Linked DNA regions of Homo sapiens: regions 2 and 3 are each linked to region 1. Evidence: promoter capture Hi-C in 16 types of primary human blood cells and fetal thymus (Javierre and others, 2016). All regions are on one chromosome and are shown on one strand. The core of a region is centred on a gene start or on the middle of the fragment in contact, and the rest is flanking DNA. Distances in the headings are between cores, read along the strand shown. Region 1 holds the start of DYNC2H1 (dynein cytoplasmic 2 heavy chain 1). Region 2 holds the start of C11orf65 (chromosome 11 open reading frame 65). Region 3 overlaps DIXDC1 (DIX domain containing 1).

Region 1 (2,891 bases), core at 391-2,890:
TTCCATGTTTGAGATCGGTGTTAAACTTGATTCAAACACAATTTCATAGTTTGTGGAAGCCCTAAGTTTCCTGAAGAGTTCTAAAAATTCTTGGGAGGATCACATACTCATGATCTCATCTGCTTTCTAGACTCATCTTCCTACATGTGTTGCCTTTTTATTTACCATATTGTTATGGAAGCTCAATTCAGCCATTTCATACATTTCCACCAAAACAACTCACCAAACCGAGCACTTGTGGGTAATGGAGACTTTCCTGAAGACCTTGGTAAGAGTGATAATGCTCATTGCAGAGCAGGAAACTCTGTAACCATAGTGGTCACTTTGGCTTTCAAAATCTTTTTATTAGCTACACAGTCATCTTGGGTTCCTGTTAGGATTTTTTCCCTCACCCAGTGGTCAGCATCCCACCTCACTGTTTGGATGTTTTCCCATCCAGTGGCCAGACTCCCATCTCTCACTGTTTGGATATTTCATGAGAATTTACATTCATTTCCTTTTATAATTTAGAGCAGTTCAGCTTTTTTAAGTTCCCACTCCAAAATCTTAAGTTGCTCAGCAAATAAAAGGACTCTCTCCTTCCAATTCTCAAATAGTATAGTTTTAAGGGGAGGTTATGATTATTAAGTGCAAACAAAAAAAATCTGCATATGTTTGTGTACCCTAGGATCTTGGGTCAAACCAGTGCTGAGGTGATGAATGACTACAGCAAAAACTTCCTGAGGGCAGGAACTGTGTCCCCAGGGCCTAGTTCGGTACTTGGCAAATTGTGTTAGATTGGTGCAAAAGTAATTACAGTTCTTGCCAAAAAACCGCAATTACGTTTGCACCAACCTAATAGCATGTAGTAAATATTTTTAGAAGAGAATTACTGAATTGAGAAAGTGTTTGACGAATGTTCGGATGAATGACCAGCAATTTAGTAGTTTATAGTAATGCCATGAAGTAGAAAATGACAAAGACCGTTTTCATATCTGTATTTTCACAGAATTTGGTTGCGGTTGTTATAAAATAAACTAAAAAGTATCATTTTACATTTTAGCTATTTTACAAATATGGTTGTGCTCGGGTAATGATTGCAATAAAAAATTGCTGGTTAAATTATTCTAAAATTAATAATAGAAAAAACGATGTTGGGAAATGCAGCAGCACAGAAAGGAGCAGAGGGCGACTGAGAAAGTAAATTAACATTGTATTGAATTCCTAGTCTTTATAAGCTTCTCTAAAAAGCGATTTTTAAATAGTAATCTTTTACAATCCGCACTACACCCCTGGTTGTGAGATAGTATTTCCCCTTCTTAACAGATGTGTACCTTGACGCTGACAGACTGGTTTGCTACCAGGTGCACGTGGAGAGCGAGCACTGGAACCCAGCTCTCCTAAATCTAGATCACGCTGCTGTACTTGAAGGCTAGATGTCTCTCTTCTGATTATGCGTGATAAGAAATCAGTAAGAAGAATAAAAGACATGTTTGAGAGCCAACATAAACTTGTCCGAACCCCTTACAATCGATGACCGCAGGGAGCCGCTGAAGAGCTCCGAGGCGGTCGATAGCCTCCGCGAGCTTTGCGTGCGCGTGCCCCGAGAGGGCAACGCCCACCGCGCGCCGCCAGCGACGCCGCCGTAGTGCTCCGTCGCCATAGCGACTACCCCTGGCAACCGCGAAGCTCTGCGGTCCCGCGGTCGGGCTACGGGTTTGAGCAAAGCTCCTCTCTTCCCTTCACTTCCCTCCGGACTGGTTTCTTCTTCCTTCCCCCTTCCCCCAACTTCCCTCCACCCCTTCCAATCATGGCGAACGGGACTGCGGACGTTCGGAAGCTCTTCATCTTCACTACTACCCAGAATTACTTCGGGTTGATGTCTGAACTCTGGGATCAGCCACTGTTGTGCAACTGTCTTGAAATCAACAACTTCTTGGATGACGGCAACCAGATGCTCCTCAGGGTGCAGCGATCCGACGCAGGAATCTCCTTTTCCAACACGGTACGGTTCCTTGCACTCCTGCCTGACCCCTGACCACTCTTCAAGTCCCCAGGCCCAGCCAGAGGGACGTCGGGTCACACTCTTTAGCTTTACCAACCAGATCCTTTTCAGGAACCCAAGGCTGTCTCCACTTCTCCTGCATTATTGGCTTAGATGCGTTGGCCTCGTGCTTAAGCAGGTAGTTTCCAAGCTTTGCATCCTACCTGACCGAAGCATGTTTCCCTTCCATACATCTGAATAGAAGCAATTAGATTGTGTTTTATTTTAAATTTTTATACGGAGTTTCGTTCTGTCGCTTAGGCTGGATGGAGTGTAGTGGCGCGATCTCTGCTCACTGCGTCCTCCACCTCCTGAGTTCAAGCGATTCTCGTGCCTCAGCCTCCCGAGTAGCAGGCGCGCGCCGCCACGCCTGGCTAATTTTTGTATTTTCAGTAGAGACGGGGGTTTCACCACGTTGGCCATGTGGGTCTCCATCTCCTGACCTCAAGTGATCCGGCCTCCCAAAGTGCTGGGATTGCAAGCATGAGCCACCGCGCCCGGCCTATATTCTACTTTTTAAGAAAGACTGCAGATACGTTATAACTAAAAAGAAAACATTTACTTAGTTATTTTTATTTTTTTCTCTCCCCTTTTTGAGTTTTTTTTTTGGGGGGAAGGCAAATTCTAGTCTATCTTTTTTGGATCAGGCTCTGATTTTAACATTGCCCAAGGGAAAGATTAGTTAGGAATTTAAATTTTTGTGAAATGATATATTTCAAAATAAAGTTTGAATTCTTTTTTGGTGTACATCATGTGATATACTGATTTATTAATTGCACTGCTCCCTCCACTGGCAGGATTGCTTAAAAAATGGGTTGCATTTGCAATCAGGGCTTATATATATAAGCCTAAAAGAAAAACACAGAAG
Region 2 (2,775 bases), core at 260-2,759, 5.4 Mb after region 1:
CAGATTCTAAAGCATGTTAAAATGTACCATCCAGTAGTGAGGGAGAAATTAAAGTGACGGAGAACTTAAAGGGGCAAAAAAAGGGATAAGTTAAATGGTAAAACCTTTGAGTAGGTGTAAGAGGACACCATCTGGAGCAGAAAGGAGGGTGGGACCGTTGCTGGCTTTAGATAAGAAATAAGATCGACTTTATATGGTTATTATGATGCTCCAGATAAAATAACCATTGTGAAAACCCTTCATAAGTTTTAAGATACTAAAATGTACTACCAGGCCGGGTCTGGTGGCTCAGGCCTGTAATCCTAACATTTTGGGAGGCCAAGGTGGGCAGATCACCTTAAGTCAGGGGTTTGAGACCAGCCTGGCCAATATGGTGAAACCCTGTCTCTAGTAAAAATACAAAAATAAACTGGGTGTGGTGGCGCACACTTGCAGTCACAGCTACTCGGAAGGCTGAGGCAGGAGAATAACTTGAACCCAGGAGGCAGAGGTTGCAGTGAACTGAGATCACGCCACTGCACTCAGCCTGGGCAACACAGCGAGATGCCTTCTCAAAAACAAACAACAACAAAAAACTAACCAAATAAAATGTACTATCAAACAACTGCTCAGGCAATGAAGTATTTTACTACACCCATGTGCCACTTGTAGATTCACAGATAAGTATTTTCCAAGCTTATTATATCCCTAATCAATAAAATTTTTTATCATAATAGATGATGTTTTCACTTATTTATTTTTACGCTTCGTGGAAAAAAGCCCACAAGACGTGTTTGGATTCTTGGTTTCACTTTTAAAGCAGCAAACAATCTTTACTTTGCTTGAATTGGAACCTGTATACGTCCTATTTTGTTTCCTCTACTAAATTTATTGAATAAACAAATGATTCGCGTGGCCTTTATAAGTTTCGTAATTTCGCTTTTCCTTTTTACCTGTGGTCCTTGATGCTAGGGGCAGGAGAAGAAAAACTAACCTATTCTTTAAAAACGCGTTTCCCTTTTCCATCTCTAAAAAAACTGAAAAGACGTAAAACAAATGGGAGGGGGCAAAGGAAAGAAATGAGGAAAAATCTAAGGAAGATTAATGTGTACTTCCCGGTCAGCGGGAAGGTGGACGGAGTAATATCTTTGCGGAGGATTGGGGTGTGGGGATCTGTGAAGGCGCAGTATGAGCAGTAAGGACTTGTCAACCAGCCCGACGCAACTTCACCGAGGGCGAGGAAAGGAGCTCTGAGGAAGGGGTTACTCCCGGGCAGGACTGTAAACCAGCTGGAGGCCTCGCTGGGAGGGCTTTAGAGGAATGAAACGTCCTTAAGAGGGGCGGATGGGGAATGGTATCAAGGGTATGGGTTCTTTAGGGCCTTGAAACAACGAAGGCTCAAACCAGTGGGCACAAAGGCTACCGGAACAGTAGTACGCGCTGAGAGAAGGGACACTATTCCCTTCACCTACCAATCGCTGCTGGCCCGGGCGCCGCTGGACTCCTAGGTAACGTCGCAGGCGGAAATGACGTAACTCAATCCGTTCTGTCCCGCCCCATTGCCCTCCTAGCCCCGCCTTCTAGGCCCCGCCTTTCCTCTATTCGCGCTCTGACAAAGTGCAGGGGATATAGACCAACCGCTTGTGAAGGCTGCTGGTTCTGTTAGAAGCCCGCTTTCGATTGTCAGTGGCTTTGAGGCAAAGGATTTTGGAAGGGAAAGCAAAGTGATTGTCTACGAAGTTGGGCTTAGTATATAATAAAGCCCAGTCATTTCAACCAAGAACCTTAAAGATGTTGAGAAATATAATGAAATATTTTCTATTAATTTTTGTAAAATTTTTCTTGAGATAGGGTCTCAATCTGTGGCCGAGGCTGGAGTGCAGTGGCGCGATCTCGGCTCACTGCAGCCTGGAACTCCCCTGGCTCAGGTGATTCTCCCACGTCAGCCTCCCGAGTAGCTGGGACCGTAGGAGTGCACCACCACGCCAGGCTCATTTTTCTATTTTTATTAATAGTGGCGACAGGGTTTCTCCATGTTGTCCAGGCTGGTCTTGAACTCCTGGGCTCCAGCGATCCCCCCCTACCCCATCTCCCGCCTTGGCCTCCCAAAGTGCTAGGATTACAGGCGTGAACCACCGCGCCCGGCCTATTTAATTAGTTTAATTTATTCATTTGAAAATGAGACAACTGATCCTTCTAGCTATTTGACAGGTCTTGCTCAAGGTCAAAGAATACGTGACTTGCAGTCCAATGTTATTTCTAAATGTAAGCTCTTCAGCTGGTTAAGCTAAACTGCTTTAAGTGAAAACAGACGACCTCTTGAATGAGTTTTCAAATGACCTTAAATAATGCAAGCACTGCTTATCTAAAGCAAGTCTGACTTGCTTGAATTCTGAGTCTGACACTTTGGCAGTGCTTTAGTTGGTCACAGATTATTGCAATGTGAAAAAATCTTGTTCAGAACTGCCCAGTTTTGCTATGTTCGTCCTATGTTCATGCATGGAATATAATTTGTTTGTAAGGAAGATAAACTTTTAAGGAGGGAAAAGAAACACCTGAAGAGAAATTTCCCTGTATAATGAAAACATTTGTACAGAAAAAATTCTTGGTAGGTTAATTCAGTGACTCACTGAACTTCCAGAGTTCTTTAAAATCATCACAATCATAAGCAAGGGGTGAGCTTCAGTTCCTCTTTATGTAGTTGCCTTGATGCATTAATACACAGTAGTTATGAACAATAAACTGTAAAAATATAGTCATGGAAACATTATGTATATCTTAATTTTCAATCTAATA
Region 3 (2,927 bases), core at 428-2,927, 8.9 Mb after region 1:
AATTAAAATTATTTTCACTGTTTCCATAAAATAAGCATTATGATTGCACACTCCTTCTACTGTCTGAATTTATGTAAGAGGTATAGCTTGCTTAAAATACATATATATGTAAAGTTATATTTTCTTAGAAACATGGATGTTTACAGCCATTGCTTTCAAAGAGATTATTACTGTGTATTCTCCCTGTTTTACAATATGTTTTCATGAAGACTATGTTACACCAGAGGCTTCTGATTATCAAAGTGATAACCAGTTTTAACTGCCGGTATGTACCAGATTTGTGAACTAATTTAAAAAACCACAAACTATGAATAAAATGGGGTTTGCAAACTAAATATCATTAATGATTTTCACTTGCGTTTACTGATGAGATTAATCAATAAAGCCATTTACATTTAGTGAAAGCAAATTTCCTCAAGTGATCTCCCTGGTAGCATGTTTACTCACTATGTGGAGTGGAGATAAGAATTACTTTATTGCTACAGATATTTTACAATTAGTATTTCTATGTAAGCACATAGGCTATTATCAAGGACAATTTATTTAGCACTTATTTTGAAATTATATGTAAACATGCAAACAAATAAGAACCCAAGAGTATAAACTCTATGACAAAAGTCAGTATGCAAGCATTAAGAACTCTTTCAGAAATGTGTATTTAAAATGACCAGAATTCCCAGATCATTTGAAAGCTGCCTCTTAAATGCCTCTTATCAATTCATCTTAAATGTTTGCTATATTAAATTCTTTATCCCTGAGTGCCTTCATTTGACTTCCAATTACGTATTTTCAACTATTAATTGGCTATCCCATTATGTTAAAATTAAATATGTACATAACTCAAAATCTTTCACTACCAACTAATTTCTGTTTCTCTCAATATCAGTGATATCACCATTCTCTTAAGTATCTCTATTTCAAACCTTTGAGTCTTGAGTCTCCTTTTCCATAATTTCCTTTATCCAGTCTGTTTAGTGGAATTCAAGCTTGTTCTCTCAGGACTGATTTGAGAAACCTAAGCATTCCTAGCCCACCTCTGGGGTAAGCTCGCCATCTCTGGACTGTTTGAGCTATGCATTCCTATAATTTAACTACACTTAAGTCAAAAGTATATTCAAGACACAAACTCGCTATTCTTTGAAAAATGCAAAACAGGGTTTAAGCAAGCATACCTAAGTGCACAACAGATCCGGAAGATCACCTCATACTTTATACCAAAGTCTAATTTAGATCCAGTTATTAAGTTCAAATGCAGCAAAAGCAGCAAGATATTTTAGCCAACTCAAAAACATTTTTATAATAATTTATAAGTCCTGGGCGGGCATGGTGGCTCGCGCCTGTAATCTCAGCACTTTGGGAGGCCGAGGCAGGTGGATCACCTGAAGTCAGGAGTTTGAGACCAGCATGACTAACATGGTGAAACCCCGTATCTACTAAAAACACAAAATTAGCTGGGCATGGTGGCACGTGCCTGTAATCCCAGCACTCGGGAGGCTGAGGCAGGAGAATCGCTTGAACCTGGGAGGTGGAGGTTGCAGTGAGCCGGGATCATGCCACTGCACTCCAGCCTGGGCGACAGAGTGAGACTCCATCCCCAAATAATAGTAATAAGTCCTTTCAGTAATTACAATTATTCTTTCATTGCTTCTTCCAATTGTTAATTCATAAGTTGTACATAATTGTAACAATATAATTGCTCTCTTCATATTATTTAAAATATGCCTTTTCATTCAATCTAGAAATTTTATATTTCTCAATTATATTGCTTACATATTATTCTGATAGACAGCTGTACCTGCTTAAACATTCCAATTTAAGTAGGCATGAAATAGTACATCCAATCTGTTTTAGTTTTCCAAATTAATTGTTAGCAAGATTAGCCCCCATTTTTTTTTTTTTTTAACAGATGGGAGTCTCATTATGTTGCCCAGGCTGGTCTCAAACTCTTGGGCTCAAGTGATTCCCCCACCTCAGCCTCTCAAGCATTGCTGGGACTACAGGCATGCACCACCGCTCCTGGCTAAAATCTTGTTTTAAGTTTCTTCCCTCCAACTTCCTCTTGCGTTCTTGGTGTTCTCTAACCATCTCTACAGGGGGGAGGTGGTGATACACAGCACATGCTTCCTCCTTATCTAATGTCACCTTCAGTTCAGAAACGATATGTTTTCTAATTAAAAGACAACTTTACAAGAGAAGCGTGCCTAACAAAATGTGTAGATGACTTTTTATTCATTGATTCAAAAGACATACATTCAGCCCCCGCTATTTACTGGATATTAAGCTCTGGGGCTACATGGAAGGACCACGCAGACACTCTTCATGCCTTCAACGGCTTACAGTTAAGTTTTTCAAACATTTGAAACATAACGAAGCTTTTGGTTACTTAAAAGAATTCTATGGTATTAGGGAGCAACACCTGTTTTGTAAACCTATATCTTCATACAGGGAATATGCTTAATCTTGCTACAGTATACATGAATGCGGGAATGTATCTTCCTCTGGGCTGCCTTTCGTTACCACTTGGCTGGGTGGAACACCTGTTCACTCCACTTTCCACTTGGGCTACAAACCTGAAACGAAATCTTTGCAACCAGTACAGCCTGCGCGGGGCGCGGCCCAGTCCATCCCCCTTCGGATGCGCAGAAGCAGAGGTCACCACGCCGGACCCCTCGATTCCCTCGCGGGCGATTCCTGGCTCCTTCACCACCCCAGCACTCCAAGACCCCCGCCCTTTGGCCTGAGGCTCCCACTGCCCTAGCCAGTTCCCGGGCTCACTTCCAGCTTTTCCAGAAAGCTTGGCCACGCCCCTCGGCCCAGACTCTCAGGCCACTCGGCCGCAATTAACCCGCGTCTCTGCGCCTTTTTAGGCCCCTCCCCCTCGGTCGTGCCCTTGTCATCTCTTAGGCCCCGTCTCACCCTTTCGGATG

The links. The method cuts DNA at HindIII sites, captures the fragments that hold promoters and counts their contacts. A CHiCAGO score of 5 or more calls a contact.
Region 2: the fragment with the promoter of C11orf65 here is called in contact with the fragment with the promoter of DYNC2H1 in region 1 in 2 of 17 cell types (naive CD8 T cells and non-activated CD4 T cells); the score reaches 6.7 in naive CD8 T cells.
Region 3: a contact is called between a fragment that was not itself captured here and the fragment with the promoter of DYNC2H1 in region 1, in 1 of 17 cell types (total CD4 T cells). The highest score is 5.1, in total CD4 T cells.

Annotation. Positions count from the first base shown.
Region 1 is chr11:103,107,786-103,110,676 of GRCh38, forward strand. It overlaps DYNC2H1 (dynein cytoplasmic 2 heavy chain 1), which reads left to right and starts at 1,641. Exons shown (of 89, transcript NM_001377.3): 1 at 1,641-1,984. The coding sequence starts at 1,790. RefSeq lists enhancers at 1,234-1,353, 1,424-1,473. The HindIII fragment of the contact is 957 bases long and covers 1,216-2,172 here.
Region 2 is chr11:108,466,020-108,468,794 of GRCh38, forward strand. C11orf65 (chromosome 11 open reading frame 65) reads right to left here and starts at 1,510. Exons shown (of 9, transcript NM_152587.5): 1 at 1,452-1,510. RefSeq lists enhancers at 729-1,581, 1,522-1,666 and a cis regulatory region at 1,594. The HindIII fragment of the contact is 4,195 bases long and covers 674-2,775 here.
Region 3 is chr11:112,022,250-112,025,176 of GRCh38, forward strand. It overlaps DIXDC1 (DIX domain containing 1), which reads left to right. Exons shown (of 20, transcript NM_001037954.4): 20 at 1-404. Among named protein-coding and RNA genes, the nearest start is that of DLAT, 1.7 kb to the right of the region's middle. RefSeq lists an enhancer at 2,121-2,310. The HindIII fragment of the contact is 1,386 bases long and covers 985-2,370 here.